6 separate regions of the Homo sapiens genome follow, and all the other regions are linked to region 1. Evidence: promoter capture Hi-C in human tissues and cell types (Jung and others, 2019). All regions are on one chromosome and are shown on one strand. The core of a region is centred on a gene start or on the middle of the fragment in contact, and the rest is flanking DNA. Distances in the headings are between cores, read along the strand shown. Region 1 holds the start of POFUT2 (protein O-fucosyltransferase 2). Region 2 has its middle 15 kb from the start of LINC01694. Region 3 holds the start of PTTG1IP (PTTG1 interacting protein). Region 4 holds the start of PICSAR (P38 inhibited cutaneous squamous cell carcinoma associated lincRNA). Region 5 overlaps PCBP3 (poly(rC) binding protein 3). Region 6 has its middle 14 kb from the start of PCBP3.

Region 1 (3,143 bases), core at 115-2,614:
GGAAAACTCCACAGTGCATTCATGAGAAGTGAAAAAGGCGTATAATACTCTGGTACTACTATTAAAACGGCTACAAAAGCTCAGAGATCCAGGACACACTTTAAGATCACTGCCCTAGAGGAAGGACACAAAGCGCCCCAAGGCACAGACAAGTCCCCAAGGCACAGACAAGTCCCCAAGGGCTACAGAAACCCTGTCCCTGGCGCTCTCCTTTCCCTGCTCTGCGCTGGTTTTCCATACTCCCATCGTCGCGAGTGAAGCTGCGTGCAGCGCCCAGGCCTGCGAACGCCACGAGGGGCCGTGCACACCTCTGCGTCCAGGCCCCTCCCGGGGTCCGCTTGGAGATCCCACAGCCACAGGGCGGCCGCGAAGCTCGTCTTGGCCCTGAGAATTCACTGCGGAGCGCCCGCCCGGCACTGACTCCCGGCTCCGCACACCCAGGCCTGGACCCGTGTCACTTGCAGGGGCCTCCGGAGCCAGCCCACGCTCAGCCTGAGCAACCCGGCCCCCTTCCTGGGCTCCCGAGGCTGCGCCCCGGGCCTCGCAGACGACCCCGCCTGCAGACCCGGGCCGCAGTGACGCAGCCTCGACTACAGCCAACCCGCTGGCCCGACCCTGCCCCCAGCCCCCGCCCCATCCCATCCCCCAGACTCCAGCCCGGCCCCGGCCCCTGCCCCTGCCCCTGCCCCTGTCCCGTCCCCGTCCCATCCTTCTTGGCCCCGGCTCCCGCCCCGCCCCCATCCCATCCCTCGGGCCCCCGTTCCTGCCCCCATCCCATCCCACCCCTCCTGGCCCTAGCCCCTGCCCCGCCCCCATCCCATCCCATCACCCTGGCCCCTGCCCCGCCCCCATCCCATCCCATCGCCCTGATCCCTGCCCCGCCCCCATCCCATCCCTCCTGGCCCCTGCCCCCTGCCCCTATACCATCACCCTGGCCCCTTACTCCGCCACATTCCTTGCCCCAGAACCCTGACCCCATCCCATTCCCCTGACCCCTGCCCCCTGACCCCGCTCCATCCCATCCCCCTGGCCCCTGCCCCATAACTCCGCTCCATTCCATCTCCCTGGCCCCGGACCACCCTCCATCCCGTGGGCCTGCCCCTGACCCCATCCCATCTCCCTGGCCCCTGACCCCGCCCCGCCCCCATCCCATCCTCTGACCCTGCCCGGTCCTGGAACCCCAGCGTTGGCACCGTGGACGCGCGTTTACCGTCTGCGGGAAGCCGCCCCCGACAGAATATCGGCCGCCGATTGTCCGGGCCAGAACTCCTGGCCGGAGGCAGAAGCCGGAGGCCAGGACACTGCCCCCAGCAGCAGGAAGACGAAGCTGAGTGTCGCCATGGCCCCGGGCGGCCACGCACTTCCGGCGGCCGCGCCCCGCCCCGGAACCACGCCCCGCCCCCGTGAAATGCGTTCCCAGTAGCCACGGCAACGCCCAGCTCCGCCCTCCCCGCGCATGCGTTATGCGCCATCACCGGCAAGCAGGGGCGGGAGGGGGAACTGCGCGTGCGCAGAGTCTCCGCCCTCCTGACCGCAGCGGCTAGAGGTTCCATTGCAGACCCGGAGGCCGTGGCTGTGGTTCGCGGCGGTGCTGTCGCGGGCGCCCTGGCGCAGCCCACGCAGGGGCTCCTGAGGGTCCGCGAGGCCGGGAGGTCCGGGGGTCGGGAGGTCCCGGGGTCGGGAAGTCGGTGGACCCTGCAGGCCAGTGGGGAGGGTACGCGAGACTGGGGGCCGGGAGGGCTGACGGCTGGTGGCGCGGGGCGGGTCCGTGGGGAGGAGGCCCGGGGCTGGTAGGGGCGGGAGGGCTGGACGGCGGGGGCGGGGCGGAGGAGGGGGTCCGTAGACGGGGTCGGCGCCGGGTGCTCTCGCCCCTCTGGAGCTGGGGTCGGGGCGGGAGCCGCGCATGAGAGCCTGGGTTTCTAGTCGGGGGGCGCCGTCGAGCTCCACACCTGCGGCCTCCTGGGTGCCCCCAACCCTGGAGCCCCGGCGAGGGGGCACCCGGGCTGAGGCCTGGCCCTCCAAGGAGCCCTGGAGGGACTGTGCTGCTAGGGCGCGGGGCTCGATGGGGTGATCTGGAGACCTGGGGGGATCCGGGGCTGCCGCCCCTGCGCTGCCAACCTCCCACCCCGCCCCTTCTGCGAGGCGTTATTAAAGGTCTGGTTTCGGGAGCCAGGTGCGTGCCCGCCGCCGCCGCTCCCCGCAGCCTCCAGGCAGCTCCCGCTGTTCCCCGAGGGCACCAGCACTGGCCGACCGACCTGGCTTGGGGCGCGGCGCTGGCAAACCCGGCCTTCTGAGGGGACGCCACGCTGACTCTAGTGCAGGCAGCCCCCAAAACGGTATAATTGGACGAATTTCTTGAAGGATGCCAGTTACCAAAAAAGAAAATACTAATGCTTATTATCTGTTAAATTTGAGATCAATTTGTTATCAAATTTTCTCACACAGAAAATTCCAGGCCCAGAGGGCCAAGCTGGTGAATCCTACTTAGAGAAGAAATAATAGGAATCCAGCCACTCAGACGATGGACGAGGAGGGGCACTTCCCTGCTCGATGTATGGGCCAGCATTGCCTTGATAGCAAAGTCAGACATCACCAGACAGTAGAACCACAGACCAATGTCTTTCATGAACCAAGACACAGCATTTAAAAAAATTAGCAAATGGAATTTATATCTGCCTATTGTTTACAAAAAAAGCCAAACTTTGTAAAATACTTGAAGAGATTTATTCTGAGCCAAATATGACCCATGACACAGCCTCAGGACGTCCTGAGAACTTGGCCCAAGGCGGTTGTTTTACTGCTTGGTTTTATTCATTTCAGGGAGACATAAGACATCAGTCAGTACATGTGAGGTGTGCATTGGATTGATCCAGAAAGTCAGGACGACTCCAAGTGGAAAGGCCTCCAGGTAATAGGTGGATTCAAAGATGTTTCTGATTGGCAGTTGGTTGAAAGAAGTTACTATCTGAAGGCTTGGAATCAATAGAAAGGAGTGTCTGGGTTAAGAGAAGGGGCTGTGGAGACCGAGGTCCTTATTATGTGGATGAAATCTCATAGGTGTCCGCCCTCAGAGGCAATACATGGCAAATGTTTCCTATTCAGACCTTCAAAAGGCACTAGACTCTCAGCCAGTCTCCTCAGGA
Region 2 (3,449 bases), core at 135-2,634, 290 kb after region 1:
CAATAAAAGTCTTCTCTCCTTCTTCAGAGACACTGGCTGTCCTTCTGCCCCACCCAGCCCCCGGTCCCTGCCAGGGAAAGGTGCGCCCCCCGGAACCACCTGGGAAGGACACTGCGGGGCCTGTGAGCTTGTTCAGCTGCTGGCTCAGCTCAGCTGGAACCTCCAAAATGAGGCTGAAGCTGCCTGGGGTATGCTCCTGGTTTCCATGGGTCTTCGGGGCCATCAACCTACAGGTCGATTTTGAGGGTGAGACAACCCTTGAGTTCCCCCTGGGGCAGGGCCAGGGGCCGGGAATAAGAGGTGGCATCTGGGGAGCTGCCCGTGGCAAGGGATGCTGCAGAGAGAGACGAAAGGTCAGTTCCCACCTCTCCCCAGACAGCCTCGGGCTGTACAGGAAAGCGTGCCACGGCACCAAGCAATGCTTGACACTGATTCACGCCTCTGAACACATGATGCCATCCCTTCTCACGGTGAGGAGGACCCGTCAGAGCGACCCGGGCCCATGCACCATCCCACCCCTGACACAGGGCAGCCCGTGCCTTCCTGCCAGTGGCTGCAGTGGTCTGGGCGAGCAGCCCTCACCTCGCAGGAAGCAGTGCTTGCCTGCCTCTTATGGCTTCTGGCCCAGGGGTTACATCTCTCTGGACCACGTGGCACTGCCTGGGCACTCCTTGGAGGGGCTTCAGCTGTGCAGACACCCCTGCTGAGGACGCCTCCTCACTAGCCCCCCAGGCACTCCCAGGGTGGGGGGCTCTGTTTAGTGCTGCTGGCTCTGGGCCACAAGCCACCCAGCTGGCTGGCAGCTCCACCACACCAGGGAGTGATTGGCACTTTTCGGCAGGAAGAAGAGGGCAGCTGTGCCGGATCCGCAAGATTTCACGGAATCAGAAAGTCCTTCCTGAACTCCGTTCAACAAGAATCCAGACGCTCAATTGGACCCATGAGGTTTCAAAGTTGCCAAGGCTGTGAGCCCCAGGAGTTAGAGGGTGAGGGTCCTGCCCAGCTGGGAAGCCACGTGGCCCAACGGCCAGGACACAAGATGCCATGGGGCAAGCACTCTGCCTCTGTGGGCCCTCCCTCCACAAAACATCAAAAATCCTGTTTTACGTCTGTGTTGATAAGAAGCCCAAATGTGCTAATATTATATATGAAAACATTTTATTTGATCTAAAATTTCTTTTTTCTTTTCTTATGATTTAAAAGTAATTACAACAGTGTTGTGGGCTCTGAGTTGGCCTGGGGGAGGCTGGGGGTGACTAGGGAGGTGGCTACTGGGGGCCCCTGAAGGACCTGGAGGAGCTTGGCGACTCCGGTGGTGAGAACCAGGGCAGGAGGACCACCGGGTGACAGGCAGGAGAGGCAGGACAATCCACCTGCTCAGGGGGCCCGGGTGGGCTGCGTGGGGTGCATCCCGGCTTAGGAAAGGGCCTCGACAGCTGGCCATTGCACAGCCCCGTGGCAGGTGGGTGGAGGGTTGCTGATCTGACCCTCAGATCCTGCCCACGTGACCCTGGATGCCTGGAGCTAGGGCACAGCCAGGCCCCGCCATGGGGCTGGAGGTGAGCTTTGCACGTGCTTGGACTCCCCAGGGTCAGGTGAGTGGTGACAGTGACCAAGTCTGCACTTGGGGTCATGTGAGTGGTGACCGTGATGTCTGCACTAGCTTTTGGGGAAGGTGCGTGGTCTCACACCCAAGGTGGGGAAGAAGGTTTGGCATGGCCTGGAAAGTTCCTGAGCCTTCACTGCCCTTCAGGGAGCCTGGGAGGGGCCTGGGGGACTGGGGCTGGTGTGGTCTCCACTCGGGACCTGCACGCGCCCCAGGCAGGCAGCGAGGCCAGCAGGCAGAGGTGGGTGAGTGTCCTCGCCGTGTGACTCTGGCCCGTCCTTAGCCACGGGGGCTCCTGTGTGGGTAGCTGTCGCAGGCCCACTCCTCCTTTCCGAACCCCAGAATCGATTTCCTGGTGGAGGTGTGAGGACGCGTCGCAGCTGTCTCTCTCTGAACCTGCTGCAGGTTCTGGCCCGAGTGCCTGGATGCCAGACACCCGCGAGCTCTGCATCAGACCCGCCTGCCTGGGCAGCCTGGGGCTCACCTCTTGTTTGTCTTTCAACCTGAGCTGGCCCTGAGCCAGTTTGTACAAAGAGTCTGTCGCTTTGATGGGACTTTTCCCTGGCACTGGCTGGATGTCCAATCACCACCCTGCACCCACATCCCTCCCACTCAGCCTGGAGCTCTGCACTCAAGTGCTGCGTCTTCAGGGTGTCTCTGCCAAACTCCACTCGAATCAGGACTCCAGCTGCCACGATGTGCATTCCCAGCCCTGGTCCCTCCCTGCCCTGACAGGGTTCCCCCCACCCCGCTCCCAATCCAGACAGGGTTCCCCCCGCCCCGCTCCCAATCCAGACAGGGTTCCCCCTGCCCCGCTCCCAATCCAGACAGGGTTCCCTCCACCCTGGCCTGCAGTTCCTGGAGAGGAGTGCTTCCGGGGGAGGAGAGGGTCACCTCTTGTGCACAGCACCCCTGGGATGCGGGTGCCCCTGGGATGCGGGTGGCCCTGGGATGCAGGTACCCCTGGGATGGGGGTGCCCCTGAGATGCGGGTACCCCTGGGATGCGGTGGCCCTGGGATGGGGGTGCCCCTGGGATGAGGGCAGCCCTGGGATGCGGGTACACCTGGGATGGGGGTACCCCTGGGATGCGGGCGCCCCTGGGACGTGGGCGGCCCTGGGACGGGGGTGCCCCTGGGATGGGGGTGCCCCTGGAATGGAGGCGCCCCTGGGATGCGGGTGGCCCTGGGACACGGGTGCCCCTGGGATGGGGGTGCCCCTGGGATGCAGGCGGCCCTGGGATGCGGGTACCCCTGGGATGGGGGCGCCCCTGGGATGCGGGCAGCCCTGGGATGCAGGTGCACCTGGGATGGGGGTGCCCCTGGGATGGGGGTGCCCCTGGGATGCGGGCAGCCCTGGGATGTGGGTGCCCCTGGGATGGGGGTGCCCCTGGGATGCGGGTGGCCCTGGGATGCCGGTGCCCTGGGATGGGGGTGCACCTGGGATGCAGGTGCCCCTGGGATGGGGGTGCCCCTGGGATGCAGGCGCCCCTGGGGTGGAGGTGCCCCTGGGATGCGGATGCCCCTGAGATGTGCTTGCCCCTGGGATGGGGGTGTCCCTGGGATGCGGGCAGCCCTCGGATGCGGTTGCCCCTGGGATGCGGGTGCCCCTGAGATGTGCTTGCCCCTGGGATGTCGGTGCCCCTGGGATGGGGGTGCCCCTGGGATGCGGGTGCCCCTGAGATGTGCTTACCCCTGGGATGGGGGTGCCCCTGGGAGGCGGGTGCCCCTGGGATGGGGGTGCCCCGGGATGCGGGTGGCCCTGGGACGCGGGTGCCCCGGGATGCGGGTGCCCCTGAGATGCGGGTGCACCTGGGATGTCGGATGCCCCTGGGATGTCAGATGC
Region 3 (3,437 bases), core at 421-2,920, 410 kb before region 1:
GCAGGAGGAATCACAGTCAAACAAAACCTCATGGTTGTTTTCCTGACACTCCCGCTTTCACAATGCAAGCAAACACACCCCCGAGCCACTGATACAGTTGCCAGTGAATCACACACTCTGCCTGCAGACGCCCATTCTGTTTGTGGAAACGTATTCACTGCACATTTGCGCTTAGAACTCAATCTGGGCCAAAAGTTCCCAGTACAGTCCCACTGGCCTCCTTGACTAACAAACTTCAAGGCAGCTGCATTGCTAACGTCACAAACCCTAAGCACACTTGGAGGCAGGTAAGAAGAAACACAAATAATCCTGCATCGGAATAAACATTCCATAAGGTCACAAAAAGAAAAGGTGCTCTACTATGCTAAACAGACACTGACAGAGCCTGGGCTAACAAGAGCTGAGAAAAGTATTAGCCCCTCAAGCTGGGCCCAGGTCAACCCTAATTGTAAGGGTCAGGAAACTGAAGTTAAGGTGGCACTATTCCCCACCACTAGTGGTCACCTGGAAACTCCACACACGGAAGCCAGCATGACATTGTGAAACAGGTCCAACCATGACACTCTCCAGCTTAGAACCTGCTGGATTTTCCCGCAGCCCACCAGGCCCTGGAGGCCCAGCCCCACAGGAAGCCACCCTCTATAAACACTGCCGGTTTCTGGAACTCTGAGTCTCCTGTCATGCACTTTCCTCCCCCAGCCCCCGCGCCCTCACTGCTTCTTTCTTGGTCAGCCTCCCGGGGACTCAGCTCCTCTTGGATAGGAGCTCTGGCTGTCGGTCACCACTGTGGCCGCAGGGCCTGGTGCAGACGGGATAAACGATGAAGAATGCCACCTGCGCGTCTGGACAGCGTAGAACCGCAATCAGCTTGCTTCAAAATCAGATGCTACAGCCTGGCTTTGGGGACGCCTTCCTTTCTAAGGCATAAGTGCGAGCGTTCGCTGCTGTGCGTGGAACTGCGGCCGGGAGGGAGTGGCGGCGTGAACGCCGGCGGCTGTAGAGACACACCGGCCGCGGCCCCATCACCCTGCAGGGGCCTGCGGCCGCCATCCCGGCCTGCCCCCGACCAGCTGTGCGACCTCGAACACGTCGTGAGCCGGCTTCCCGGCTCGGGATCGAACCCGAGGAGTGCTGTTTGGGGTCGCAGTGAGGCTAAGGGAGGCCGCAGGTGCCAAGCGTCCCGCCTGCCGGGCGAGGGCCAACCCGAGGCCACGCGCGAGGAGCGGCCGCAGCGACTGGACAAAACAAAGACAAAGACAAAGACGGCTCTTCCCCTGCCCGCGCCCCAGCCGCGACGGCAGCTCCCGCGGCCGCCAAACGGGCGTGACCCTCGAGGAGCCTCCGTCGGGGCGCTGCCTGCGACCGTGGGCCCAGGCCGCCCGCCGAGCCCAGCGCCCTGGCCGAAACCCCGACCCCGACCCCGACCTGGACCCACCAGCCGCCCCGCCCCCTTCGCGGCCCCGCCCGCCCCGGCGCCCTCACCAGCTCCGGGAGGCTCCTGCGCGGCGGCCACCGGGATGAGCAGCAGGAGCAGCGCGGCGCCACCGAGGCGCAACCTCCAGTACGGCGTCGGCCCGCGGGCCACTCCGGGCGCCATGGTCGGCCGGTCGCTCTATCAGTCAGTGGAGCGTTACAACTCCGACTCCAGCACAAGCGGTCTCCGCCCGGAACAGCCGCGGCGCCGGAAGTGGACCTGCGAGGTGGGGCCATGCGAGTGCGCAGCCTCAAAAAGCAGCTCGCCCCGCTCCCTCGCCATCTGCCCCGCCCCTCGCCAACGGGCTCGCCTCCCGGCGCGGCTGAGGTTCAGTGCGCCTGCGCGATAGAGGAAAGGAGCCTGGTAGCGAGGAGAGCGGCTGAGGCTCAGTGCGCCTGCGCGGCGCGGATGGGCGAGGCGTGACCGAGGGGCGAGGCGTGACCGAGGGGCGAGGCGTGACCGAGGGGCGAGGCGTGACCGAGGGGCGAGGCGTGACCGAGGGGCGAGGCGTGACCGAGGGGCTCGCCGCGGCTCCTGCGCCTGCGCGGCGGGGAACGGCGACCGGCTGAGGGGACTAGGGGAGCGCGGTGCTTCGGTGGCGGAGGTCACGGTGGCCTCCATCCTAAAGGGCTGCGGGCGTCCCGGACGGCGGTCCCAAGCGCTGCTCACGCTGCTCTTAAGTGAGCCCTGGACGAGGCGCGGTGGGCCCTCATAGTCCGCGCCGGCGCCCTCGCTCCACACCGCGGCGTCCGGCCCTGGGCTCCCGCCGATGTCCGCGTGGGACTTTTAGGGGATTTGTTTATTTTTGTACGTTAACCACACTAGAAACGGCCCCAGAATGGGCTGAAACGTGTGCTGCTGAAGCTGCCACCTAAACTCCCGAGAGAAGCGCCGTTTCTCCTCCATGGCTTCTCGCCGACGCCCTCGCTGCGGCCTTCCGGGCCCCTCGGTTGATAAAAGGACTAAATAGTGACGGACATTTTTAAGGCTACTTAAGAAATGGCAAAAATACATTTAGAGGTGTGAACCCGAACACACTGCGCGCTTTAAGCCCCGCGAGAGCCGGGGCCGCCCGCTTCTGTGCGCCCGTAGCTCCTTTCTCGGGTCCGGGATTCGCCGGTGCCGGGGACAGAAACCTCCTGCCTTCTTAGTTCATGACCCTTGTAGATGAACTTCCCTGTTTTCTGCACTGCTTAGACCAGAAGACGGGAAACCGTGACTGCCGCACCCTTCCCTGAAGCAGGCACTGCCCGTCGTCCATCAAACGCGAGGACTGCGCCCACCTCGTAGGAAGGACGCCGCGGTCCTGCTAAAAGCCTCCGCCTCTGCCTGCCCGAGGGCACCCTTCCCCTCCCCGCTTCCGAGGGCGGACTCCATTCCTCTGGAGCCGGTGTTTCCGGGTGGGCCAGCCTCCAACTGCCTTTGAATAACCCCCCCTTACATTAGATTCTGACCCTGTGGTGATTTTAGGTTGGGATTTGGGCGCCTGCAGATGGCTCCGAAGCCAGCCTCTTGTGATCCGAGCCACTTCTCTGGCACTCGGAGCGCTGGCACCCGCGGAGCGGCCTTGGTTCACCGGACCGCCTGGGAACCTGGCCGGGGTCTCTGGCAGCCTCCCAGGGCTGAGGTTCAGACTCTGTTCCGCCTACCCAGGTCCACACCTGATAGGGCTGGAGTTGAGGCTTGGTTTTAAGGCAAGAGTTTCGTTTGTTATTTCTCCAAAGAGTCAGCTGTTTGCAGGTGTGTGGTTAACACTATCCTTCGAGGTTAAGGTTTTGTTCGTCTTGCTAAAGTTTGCAACCTTTTTTGTCCTTCAGATTTGGAGAAGGGGAAAGCAGTTTCTCTTTGAAAAGAAGCAGCGAATCGTGGCTTAAGCAAAATTTGTAATCCTTAAAACTGGCCAGGCTCTGGAGCTGAGTTCAATTTGACATGTCTAAACTTTCTTCTTGAGTAACCAGATTTT
Region 4 (3,158 bases), core at 505-3,004, 280 kb before region 1:
GGCCCAGCTCTGTCTCCCACCTGCTAGGTGCCTGCTTGGGCTGCCCCCTCATCTGGAAGGGGTGCTAAGTGCCAGGACAGCGCCCCAGGTCCGGGGCACTCATGAGTGACAGCATCCTCCAGGTGTGGACTACAGGGTAGTCGGGCAACTGGGATCCTGCTCCTGGCCCAGCGCAGCGGAAAGGACAGAGCCAGACCCTCCAGCCACCCCTTCCAGGCTGTCTCCTTGTCCTCAGAGTGGGCAGAAGATCCCTGCCCTCCCCACCTGCCTGCTGTGGGGTCAGCTAAGACAATGGGTGTGGGACCCTCCACAAGAACAGCCCCCTGTTAACAAAATGAGACTTGAAGGAGTGAGAGCACTTCGGGGGGCCGGGTTTGTCAGGCAGAGATTGCACCAGGCAGGGGGCCGAGACTTTGGAGAGGACCTGGCTGGAGCACTCGTCTGCACACAAGGAAAACAAAGGCTCAAAGACAGGGCAGAGTTCAGACCCTCCGTTCCCAAAGTGGTGCCCCCCACCCCTCCCAGGACTGTGTCCACACAGTGGTGCCCGCCAGGGTGGGCAGGAGGTGTCCATGGACATGACTACAGCAAGGCCAGGGGCCGAGAGGGAAGGGTCAGGGAAGACTGGCCAGCTCGAGGGGATCACAGAGGCTGCCCTGGCCTTGTTCCTAGCGGACAAAATAGGACTGACAGCTACAGACAAAGCCAGGCACAGCCCAGCACAAAGACAGACAGCCGAGGAACTGTGGTGCCCCAGTAGTTAAGGGCCAGAAAGAACATTTTTAAAGATGTCAGGGTTGGCTGCCAGAATCCTCTTGTACAACATTCCATGACTGGGAGTTGTTGGGGACTTGAGTTCCAGGCTGGCTCTGCCCAGCCTTGAAAGCCTGGCTGGGCCTCGGTTGCCTCCTTGGAAAATGAGGGGCTAGACTGAGGCCCTGGGGGTCCTGGCTGTGCCCAGAGCCTGCCGTGCCAGGCCCACGAGGAGAGGTCAGGGCTGGGGGTGCCGAGCCAGCTTCCCCAGGCTCCGGGTCAGGTTATCCAGGTGGGAGGGAGGCCTAGCACCTCCCCCACTCCGAGGTCTGGCTTCTAGAATCTCCTGCAGAAACACAAACCCATCTCACTACACTGTAAACACAACATCCTTGGAATTGGAAATCAATGGCAGATGCAGGCAGATTCAGCCTCCAAAGCCACAGAAGGGCTGGGAGCGGACCGGAGCCAGGAGTTGCCACGGGAGGTGGGTGCCTGGGAGCCCCAGCACAGAGGTGGCCCCTCTCAGGCCAGGCTGGGCCGCAGCATCTGTGGGCCCCTCCACGCCCCCTCCCATCCGTGCTGGCCCCATTGGCCTGGGCTCGCAGCTGGACTGCTTCCTGGGTGGAGGCACCAGGGCCCACAGTGGTACGGCCTGGCATTGGTGCAGGCTTTTAAGCATAGATGGCATCTTTAACAAAAATGGGCTCTCACAGAATGTTTTTAAATTAAAATGTAATTCACATACCTCGGAATTTACCTCTTGAAAGTCCAGGCAGTTCAGCGGCATCCGGTCCACCCCCACTGCGGTGCAGTGCCAGGGTGAGCCAGCCACCCCCGGCGGGAGAAACACCATCCCCACAGCCGGCGCTCCTGTGCCCCCTCCTCCCAGCCCCGGGCAGGCCTCGCCTCTGTGCGTTTCCCATGGATGAGGTCATAGAGCGCGTGGCCTTCCGTGCCTGCCTCTTCCGGGCAGCAGCATGGTGGGTGTTTCTGAGGCTCCTCCGTGTCGCTCCACCCGTCAGCACTTCATGCCTCTCGGGGCTGGGCCACATTTCGTTGCAGGGATGGGCCACGTTTTTAACCTGTCCATCAGCGGACGGACGTTTGGGCTGATTTTATCTTTTGGCTATGATGAATAACGCGGTGATCAACATTGATTCACAAGTTTTGTGCGGACCCGTTTTCAGTTGTCCTGAGTATCAGCCCGGGCCTAGACTTCCCGGGTTATATGGTGATACAGTTTAAACGCATGTCCTTGCCAAGCCTCGTGTTGAACTGTCATCCCCCGTGTTGGAGGTGGGGCCTGGGGGCAGGTGTTTAGGTCACGGGCGTGACTCCCTCAGGAATGGCTTGAGCCATCCCCGTGGTGAAGAGTGAGCTCTCACTCTGGGTTCCTGTGAGATCTGGTGTTTAAACGTGTGTGGCACCTCCCCGACCCCGCTGCTCCCGCTTTCACCACGTGACTCGCCTGCTCCCCCTTCACCTTCCACCATGAGTAAGAGTTTCCTGAGGCCTCCCCAGAGGAAGAAGCCCTTATGCTCCTGTACAGCCTGCAGAACTGTGAGCCACTTAATCCTCTTCTCTTATAAATGACCTGGTCTCAGGTATTTATAGCTCCATAAAAACAGCTTAACACGTATGGTAACTCTGTGTCTAAGCATACAAGATTAAAAAAATACATTCACACCGTCTTCTGTATTGACTTCCATGGTTACCTTTACTAATGTTTTTATTTCTTCAAGTTGGTGTGAGTGGCTGTCTAGTGTCCTTACATTTCAGCCTGTAGACCTCCTTGTAGTTATCTGGTCTGCTAGTGATGAATTATCTCAGATTTTGTTTAAAAACTGTTAAAAATATTGATATATAGTATGTATACACACACACATATATATTGTATTTATATTTAGAATTTTTAATATATATAGTTTTATATATAATACATGGTATTTATATAATTTTATTTATATTTTATCATTTTATTTTGTTTATTTATTTGTATTAATTTCTCCTTCACTCCTGAAGGATAGCTATACTATTATACAATTCTCGGTTGGCAGTCTTTTTCTTTCAGCACTTTGAATATGTCATCCTACTGCTTTCTGGCCTCATGACTTCTAATAAGTCATCTGTTAATCTTATTTAGGATTCCTTGTATGAGATGAGTCCCTTCTCTCTTGCTATTTTTAGAATTCTCTCCGCTTTTCACGTTTCACAGCTTGATTATGATGTGTCTGGGTGTGGGTCTCTCTGAGTTTATTCTACTTGGAGTTTGTTGAGCGTCTAGGATGTGTAGATTAATGTTTTCATCAAAGTTGAGTTGGCTGTTATTTTTTCAAATATTCTTTCTTCCCTTGCCTCTGTCTCCTCTCCTTGTGGGACTTCATGATGTGTGTGTTTGTGTG
Region 5 (3,151 bases), core at 152-2,651, 370 kb after region 1:
GTCTTTTTATTTATTTTGGTTATTCCTGGTCCCTTGCATTTTCATATGATTTTTAGGTTTGGTTTGTCACTTTCTGGAAAAAAAAAAAGGCAGGTAGAATTTTGATGGGGATTAATTGAATCTGTAGATAATTCGGGGAGTATTGTCAGGTTAACAATATTAAGTTTTCCAATCCATGAGCATAGGATTTAGTAGCTATAATAGTTTTTTAGTGGATTCCTGAGGATTTTTTATATGCAAGATTATATTATCTGCAGATATAGATACTTTTAATTCTTTGCTTCTAATCTGCATGCCTTTTTAAAATTTTTCTCATGTAATTGCCCTGGTTATAAGCTTTAACACAATGTTTAATTGTTGTGGCAAGGGTGGACATCATTGTTTGTTCCTTATCTTAGGGGGAAAGCTTTTAGCCTCTCACCAGTAAGTATAGGTAGCTGTGAATTTTTATAGATGCCCTTAATTAGGTTGAGGAATTTCCCTTCTATCCCTATTTTGTTGAGTGTTATTATCATGAAAGCGTGTTGAATGTTGTCAGATGCTTTTCCTGCATCTATACTGTTATTTTTGTCCTTTATTATATTAATGTCATGTATTACATTGATTCAGTTTTGTATGTTGAGCCAACTTTGAATTCCCTAGATAAATCCCACTTGTCATGGCATATAATCCTTTTTATATATTGGTGGATTCGGTTTTGCAAGTGTTTTGTTGAGGATTTTTTGAGATGGAGTCTCACTTTGTCACCCAGGCTGGAGTGCAGAGGTGCGATCTCAGCTCACTGCAGCCTCTGCCTCCTGGAGTCAAGCGACTCTCCTGCCTCAGCCTCCTGAGTAGCTGGGATGACAGGTGCGTGCCACCATGCATGGCTAATTTTTGAATTTTTAGTTGAGACAGGGTCTTACCATGTTGGCCAGGCTGGTCTTGAACTCCTGACCTCAAGTGCTCTGCCTGCCCTGGCATCCCAAAATGCTGGGATTACAGACATGAGCCGCCACACCCAGCCTTGTTAAGGATTTTTAAGTTTGTATTCTTAAGACATGTTAATCTATAGTTTTCTTGTGATCTCTTTGTCTGGTTTTGGTATTAGGGTAATACTGGCCTTATAGAATGAGTTGGCAAGTGTCCGTTTCTCCTTGTGAAGGATTGGTGTTCATTCTTTAAATGTTTGATAGAATTTAATAGTGAAGCCATCTGTTTCTAATTTTTCCTTGTGGGAAATTTTTAAAATACTGAATATCTTTACTTGTTTTAGGTTTTTTTCAGATGTACTGTTTTTTAAGTTTTGATAGTTTCTGTCTTTCTAGGAATTTGTGAATTTCACCTAGGTTATCTAATTTATTGGCCATCAGTTGTTCATAATATTTCTTTATAGTCCTTTTATTTCTGTAAGGTTGGTAGTTTTCTTTCTGATTTTAGTAAATTGAGTCTTCCCTCTTTTTTTCTTGGTCATTCTAGATAAAAGTTTGTCAGTTTCATTGGTCTTTTTTTAAAAAAAAAACTTTGGTTTCATTGTTGTTTTTCTATTTTCTGTTTCATTTTTGCTCGAATATTTGTTTTTTTCTTTCTTCCACTTGCAAAGGTTTAGTTGGCTCTTTTTCTGATTTCTTAAGGTAGAACGTTAGGTTATTGATTTGAGATATTTCTCTTTTAACATAGGTGTTTACAGCTATAATTTTGTAAGAACTGCTTTTACTGCCTTTCATAAGTTTTGATATGTTGTGCTTTCTTTTACTTTCCTTTTTTTTTTTTTTTTTTTTTTTGAGACAGGGCCTTGGTCTGACACCCAGGCTAAAGTGCATTGGTGCCATCACAACTCACTGCAGCCTCAACTTTGAGTCTCCTGAGCTCAAACGATCTTCCCACCTCATCCTCCTGAGTAGGTGGGACTATAGGTGCATTCCCCTACACCTGGCTAATTTTTTAATTTTTTGTGAGACACAGTGTCTTGTCATGTTGCTCAGACTGGTCTCGAACTCCTGGGCTCAAGCAGTCCTCCCGCTATGGCCTCCCAAAGTGCTGGGATTACAGGCGTTAGCCACTGTGCCTGGCCTCATTTTTAATGATCTCAAAGTATTTTCTAATTTCCCTTGTGGTTTCTCCCTTGACTCTGGTTATTTAGCAGTGTATTGTTAAATTTCCACAAACTTTTGAATTTCTTAAATTTTTATCTGTTACTGATTTCTATTTTTTTCCCTTGTGGTTGGGGAACATATTTTATATTACTTCAATCCTTTAAAATTTTGGGACTTATTTTCTTGGCTAACACCTGGTCTGTTCTAGAGAATGTTCCATGTGTATTTGAGAATAATGTGTTTTCTGCTTTTTGAATGGAGAATTCTATAAATGTCTGCTAGGTCTAATTAGTTTATTAGTATTGTTTAAATCTTTTGTTTTCTTTCTGATTTTCTGTCTTGCATTCCATCCTGTATTGAAAACGGACTTTTGAAGTTTCCAACTGTTACTGTTGAACTGTCTGATTCTCCCTTTTTTCTCTTAATTTTTTGTTTCATGCATTCTGGGGCTTTATTTTATATGTATACACACACACATATATATATGTATATATATGTATATAATTGTTAGAGCTTCTTGATGAATTGACCTTTTTATAGTTATAAAATATTCTTTGTCTGTAATAACAATTTTTGTATTAAAGACCGTTTTTTTCTGATGTTAATATAGCCATTCAAGCTCTCCTTTGGTTACTGTTTGCATTGTATATATTTTTCCATGCTTTTAACTTATTTGTTCGTTGTATTTAAGTGTCTTTCTTGTATACTACATATAACTGAATCATTAAAAAATCCATTTAGACAATTTCTGTGCTTATATTGGAATGTTTAATCCATTTACATTTAATGCAATTTTGACAAGGTGAAATTTATGCCAGCCATTTTGCTTCTTGTTTTCTCTATGCAATGTCTTTTTGAATTTTCTATTACTCCATTACTGACTTTGTGTTAAATAGATATTTTCATTTATTTTACTATTTTTTATTTTCTTAGGGGTTACTTGGGGTCTTACTACTGGCAATTTGTAACAGTTTAGTTTGGATTAGTACCAGTCTAATTTCACTAGTATACAGAAACTTTGCTTCTGTATATCTCCATTCCCTCCTTCTTCCTTTGTGCTGTTATTGTCATACAAA
Region 6 (3,642 bases), core at 1,033-3,532, 340 kb after region 1:
ACAAAAATTAGCCGGGTGTGGTGGCAGGCACCTGTAGTCCCAGCTACTTGGGAGGCTGAGGCAGGAGAATCACTTAAGCCTGGGAGGCAGAGGTTGTGGCGAGCCGAGATCACGCCACTGCACTCCAGTCTAAGTGACAGAGCAAGACTCGTCTCAAAAAAAAAAAAAAGAAAGAAAGAAAAAATAAATTTAAAGTTTTTTTTTCTAATTCTGTGAAGAATATCAATGGTAGTTTAATGGGAATAGCATTGAATCTATAAATTACTTTGGGCAGTATGGCCATTTTCATGATATTGATTCTTCCTATCCATGAGCATGGAATGTTTTTCCATTTGTTTGTGTTCTCTCTTATTTCCTTGAGCAGTGGGTTGTAGTTCTCCTTGAAGAGGTCCTTCACTTCCCTTATTAGCTGTATTCCTTGGTATTTTATTTTCTTTGTAGCAATTGTGAGTGGGAGTTCATTCATGATTTGGCTCTCTGTTTGTCTATTATTGGTGTATAGGAATGCTTGTGTTTTTTGCACTTTGATTTTGTATCCTGAGACTTTGCTGAAGTTGCTTATTAGCTTAAGGAGATTTTGGGCTGAGACGATGGGGTTTTCGAAATTTAAGGAGGGAATCCTCCCTAACTCTTTTGGTATCATCCTGATACCAAAACCTGGCAGAGACACAACAAAAAAAGGAAGCTTCAGGGCAATATCCCTGATGAACATCGATGTGAAAATCTTCAATAAAATACTGGCAAACCAAATCCAGCAGCACATCAAAAAGCTTATCCACCATGATCAAGTCGGCTTCATCCCTGGGATGCAAGGCTGGTTCAACATATGCAAATCAATAAACATAATCCATCACATAAATATAACCAAAGACAAAACCACATGATTATCTCAAAAGATGCAGAAAAGGCCTTTGATAAAATTCAACATCCTTCATGTTAAAAACTCTCAATAAACTAGGTATCGACAGAACATATCTCAAAATAATAAGAGCTATTTATGACAGAGCCACAGCCAATATCATAGTGAACGGGCAAAAGCTGGAAGCATTCCCTTTGAAAACTGGCACAAGACAAGGATGCCCTCTCTCACCACTCCTATTCAACATAGTATTGGAAGTTCTGGCCAGGGCAATTGGCAAGAGAAAGACATAAAGCATATTCAAATAGGAAGAGAGGAAGTCAAATTGTCTCTGTTTTCCGACACCATGATTCTGTATCTTTCTTTCTTTTGAACAAGGCTGGATAGCCAACACTTTATTATGGTGTTTGTATATTGTTAGCCTAGCTCCCTGAGCAAACAGAACCTGAGGCAAAAGTCTTGTGCCTGTATTTTTCTGGGGAGTGCAATCCCAGGAAACAGGAGTGGGAAGAGGGGACTGAGGCAAGAAAGGGAGGAAGGTGACTCTCAGGGAGGTCACTGTCCACTGCCGGCTGACGTCTGGCTCCATGCTTCTCCTCAGGGACTGCGTGAAGCTCCTGCATCTCTGATCAGTGGAGCAGGGAGAGGAGTGGGACAGGGCGGACATGCCAGTTCCTGTTGCTGGCCTCATTTCACCTCAGACTCTGCGTGCAGGTGGCAGACAGCTTCCGATGCATCTCCCCCATCACAGGCAATAAGAGAGCCCTGAGAAACTAAGCAAGAGGCCTCCAGCGCTATCGGAGCTGGGTGTTGTTGGGTTTGTTGATACCTGATGGGTGGGCCCAGAAACAGCTCTCCAGGGACCCAGGAACTGGCCATGGCTGCAGGAGCAACAGCAGCCACCTAGCTGTGCACACAGGAGCCGGGAGGGATGTTCGCAATGGCTGCTCAAGCCGGACAGCAAGGCGACCATGCCAGCCTCAGTGACCTGAACGGAACCCGAGACGTGCATGCAGGAGCCGGGAGGGACGTTCGCAATCGCTGCTCAAGCCCGACAGCAAGACGACCATGCCAGCCTCAGTGACCTGAACGGAACCCGAGACAGTCCACCCCGCAAGTCTCACCCAGGAACAGATGGCCCTGGAACTGATGACAGCCTACCCTGCGTGTCTCACCTGGGAATGGATGGCCCTGGAACCGATGACAGCCCACCCCACGTGTCTCACCCGGGAATGGACAGCCCTGGTTCCTGAGGGGTGGTGCAAGTGCAATTTCTCCAGGGGTTCTCTGGTTGTAATCTACTGAAAAGCCATTAAAAGGGCTGCCGCATCAGGCTATGGTCCCTGCTGACACCGCTAATCCTGGGGCCAAACCCCATACTATCCTCTCCTTGCCCTCCCCACATCCTAGACTGGCCTCCCTCAGCTGAGCCTTGGTCTGAACTGTTCGCCCCATGGCACCCAGGCCTCGGTCATCCTGCATTGGATGGGCCATGGTTGCTGTGATTACAGCTGCCACTCAGTGCAGATCCCGAAGTGCCCCAGCAAGCTGTCAGCTGCAGGCATTCCCCTCGTTGGCCCCGTGGTACAGAAGCAAGCCTCGATCTCCACGGTGTTCAGAGCCTGCCCACTCCCCATCTCCATGTTGTTCAGAGTCTGGCCCCCCCACCCCTATCTCCACCGTTTTCGGAGCCTGGCCCCCACCATCTCCATGATGTTCGAAGCCTGGCCCCCTCATCCTGATCTCCACAGTGTTCTGAGCCTGGCACCCCCCCAACCCCAGAGATCTCCATGGTGTTCAGAGCCTGGCCCTTTCACAGGTACGGTAAGTGCATGTGTGGCTTGCCCACTGGCACGAGGAGGCCAAAGTGGCCAAATGGTGGTCATGGCTTCTAGTCTTGCAGCAACCTGTGTACGCTGGCAGGAGCCTCCCCTCAACCAGGGGGTCAAGGGTTCCAGTCCAAGAGAGCCTCAGACTTCAGCCCCAGGAAGCACAGCCATGCAAGCCGTTCACCGTGTGTGCTGGGGAGGGGCCAAACTGGCTTCTGTCCCTGGGGTCCTCAGAGCTTTGTATGCAAGGTCCCAGGGACACGGGATCATTTCCTGACCATGGGCTCAGCACGGATCCTACGTCCTGGAGTGCAGTTCCTGGGCCAGACGGGCCCAGGCTTTCTTAGAGCTGCCGCCCATGCCGGGCCATTCGCAAGTCTCCCTTCACTGGTAGGCTGACTGCTTCTGGGTGATGGGTCTGTGGTAACGCCAGTGAATTCCATGGTCAAGTGCCCGTCATCAGACCTTCTTTACCTTGAAGAGGTCTCTGGGTGCAAGGCAGGTGCTTTGTGAAATACTGTCATAAATGTTTAATGCAGCATAAGGAGCCACCTACGAACTTAGTGGCCTGAAACCCCAATGTGTTATCTCTCACTGTGCTGGGGGCCGGCAGGATCAGCCCGGTGTTCTGTTCTCATGTTGGTCCTTCACATGGGTGCAGTCAGATGGCGGCCGAGGCTGGAATCATCCGAAAGCTTCTTCACTGGGACGCGGTCAGATGGCGGCCGAGGCTGGAATCGTCCGAAAGCTTCTTCACTGGGATGCGGTCAGATGGCGGCCGAGGCTGGAATCGTCCGAAAGCTTCTTCACTGGGACGCGGTCAGATGGTGGCCGAGGCTGGAATCGTCTGAAAGCTTCTTCACTGGGACGCTGTATCTGCTGCAGGGATCTCTCCTTCTATGAAGCCCCTCCCTTTGTCCAGCTGGGGTTTCCTCACGGCATGGTAAGGCCAGC

Evidence for each region. The method cuts DNA at HindIII sites, captures the fragments that hold promoters and counts their contacts. A contact is called where the count stands out against the background at its distance.
Region 2: a fragment that was not itself captured here is called in contact with the fragment with the promoter of POFUT2 in region 1 in 2 of the 25 tissues and cell types used here (H1 embryonic stem cells and mesendoderm cells).
Region 3: the fragment with the promoter of PTTG1IP here is called in contact with the fragment with the promoter of POFUT2 in region 1 in 2 of the 25 tissues and cell types used here (dorsolateral prefrontal cortex and lymphoblastoid cells).
Region 4: a fragment that was not itself captured here is called in contact with the fragment with the promoter of POFUT2 in region 1 in 2 of the 25 tissues and cell types used here (H1 embryonic stem cells and thymus).
Region 5: a fragment that was not itself captured here is called in contact with the fragment with the promoter of POFUT2 in region 1 in 1 of the 25 tissues and cell types used here (spleen).
Region 6: a contact is called between a fragment that was not itself captured here and the fragment with the promoter of POFUT2 in region 1, in 1 of the 25 tissues and cell types used here (spleen).

Annotation. Positions count from the first base shown.
Region 1 is chr21:45,286,531-45,289,673 of GRCh38, forward strand. POFUT2 (protein O-fucosyltransferase 2) reads right to left here and starts at 1,365. Exons shown (of 9, transcript NM_133635.6): 1 at 1,211-1,365. The coding sequence starts at 1,341. LINC00205 (long intergenic non-protein coding RNA 205) reads left to right here and starts at 1,522. Exons shown (of 3, transcript NR_026943.1): 1 at 1,522-1,714; 2 at 2,821-2,908. RefSeq lists a silencer at 1,292-1,821 and an enhancer at 1,976-2,706. The HindIII fragment of the contact is 23,447 bases long and covers 1-3,143 here.
Region 2 is chr21:45,576,525-45,579,973 of GRCh38, forward strand. No RefSeq gene overlaps it. Among named protein-coding and RNA genes, the nearest start is that of LINC01694, 15 kb to the right of the region's middle. RefSeq lists an enhancer at 2,415-2,916. The HindIII fragment of the contact is 5,985 bases long and covers 1-3,449 here.
Region 3 is chr21:44,872,020-44,875,456 of GRCh38, forward strand. It overlaps PTTG1IP (PTTG1 interacting protein), which reads right to left and starts at 1,671. Exons shown (of 6, transcript NM_004339.4): 1 at 1,483-1,671. The coding sequence starts at 1,597. RefSeq lists enhancers at 792-1,292, 1,293-1,793, 1,951-2,628 and a silencer at 1,385-2,034. The HindIII fragment of the contact is 14,261 bases long and covers 1-3,437 here.
Region 4 is chr21:45,002,943-45,006,100 of GRCh38, forward strand. It overlaps PICSAR (P38 inhibited cutaneous squamous cell carcinoma associated lincRNA), which reads right to left and starts at 1,785. Exons shown (of 2, transcript NR_024089.2): 1 at 1,502-1,785. RefSeq lists an enhancer at 1-407. The HindIII fragment of the contact is 7,508 bases long and covers 1-3,158 here.
Region 5 is chr21:45,657,598-45,660,748 of GRCh38, forward strand. All of the region lies in intron 1 of PCBP3 (poly(rC) binding protein 3), which reads left to right. Among named protein-coding and RNA genes, the nearest start is that of PCBP3, 15 kb to the left of the region's middle. The HindIII fragment of the contact is 6,952 bases long and covers 1-3,151 here.
Region 6 is chr21:45,627,657-45,631,298 of GRCh38, forward strand. No RefSeq gene overlaps it. Among named protein-coding and RNA genes, the nearest start is that of PCBP3, 14 kb to the right of the region's middle. The HindIII fragment of the contact is 3,110 bases long and covers 728-3,642 here.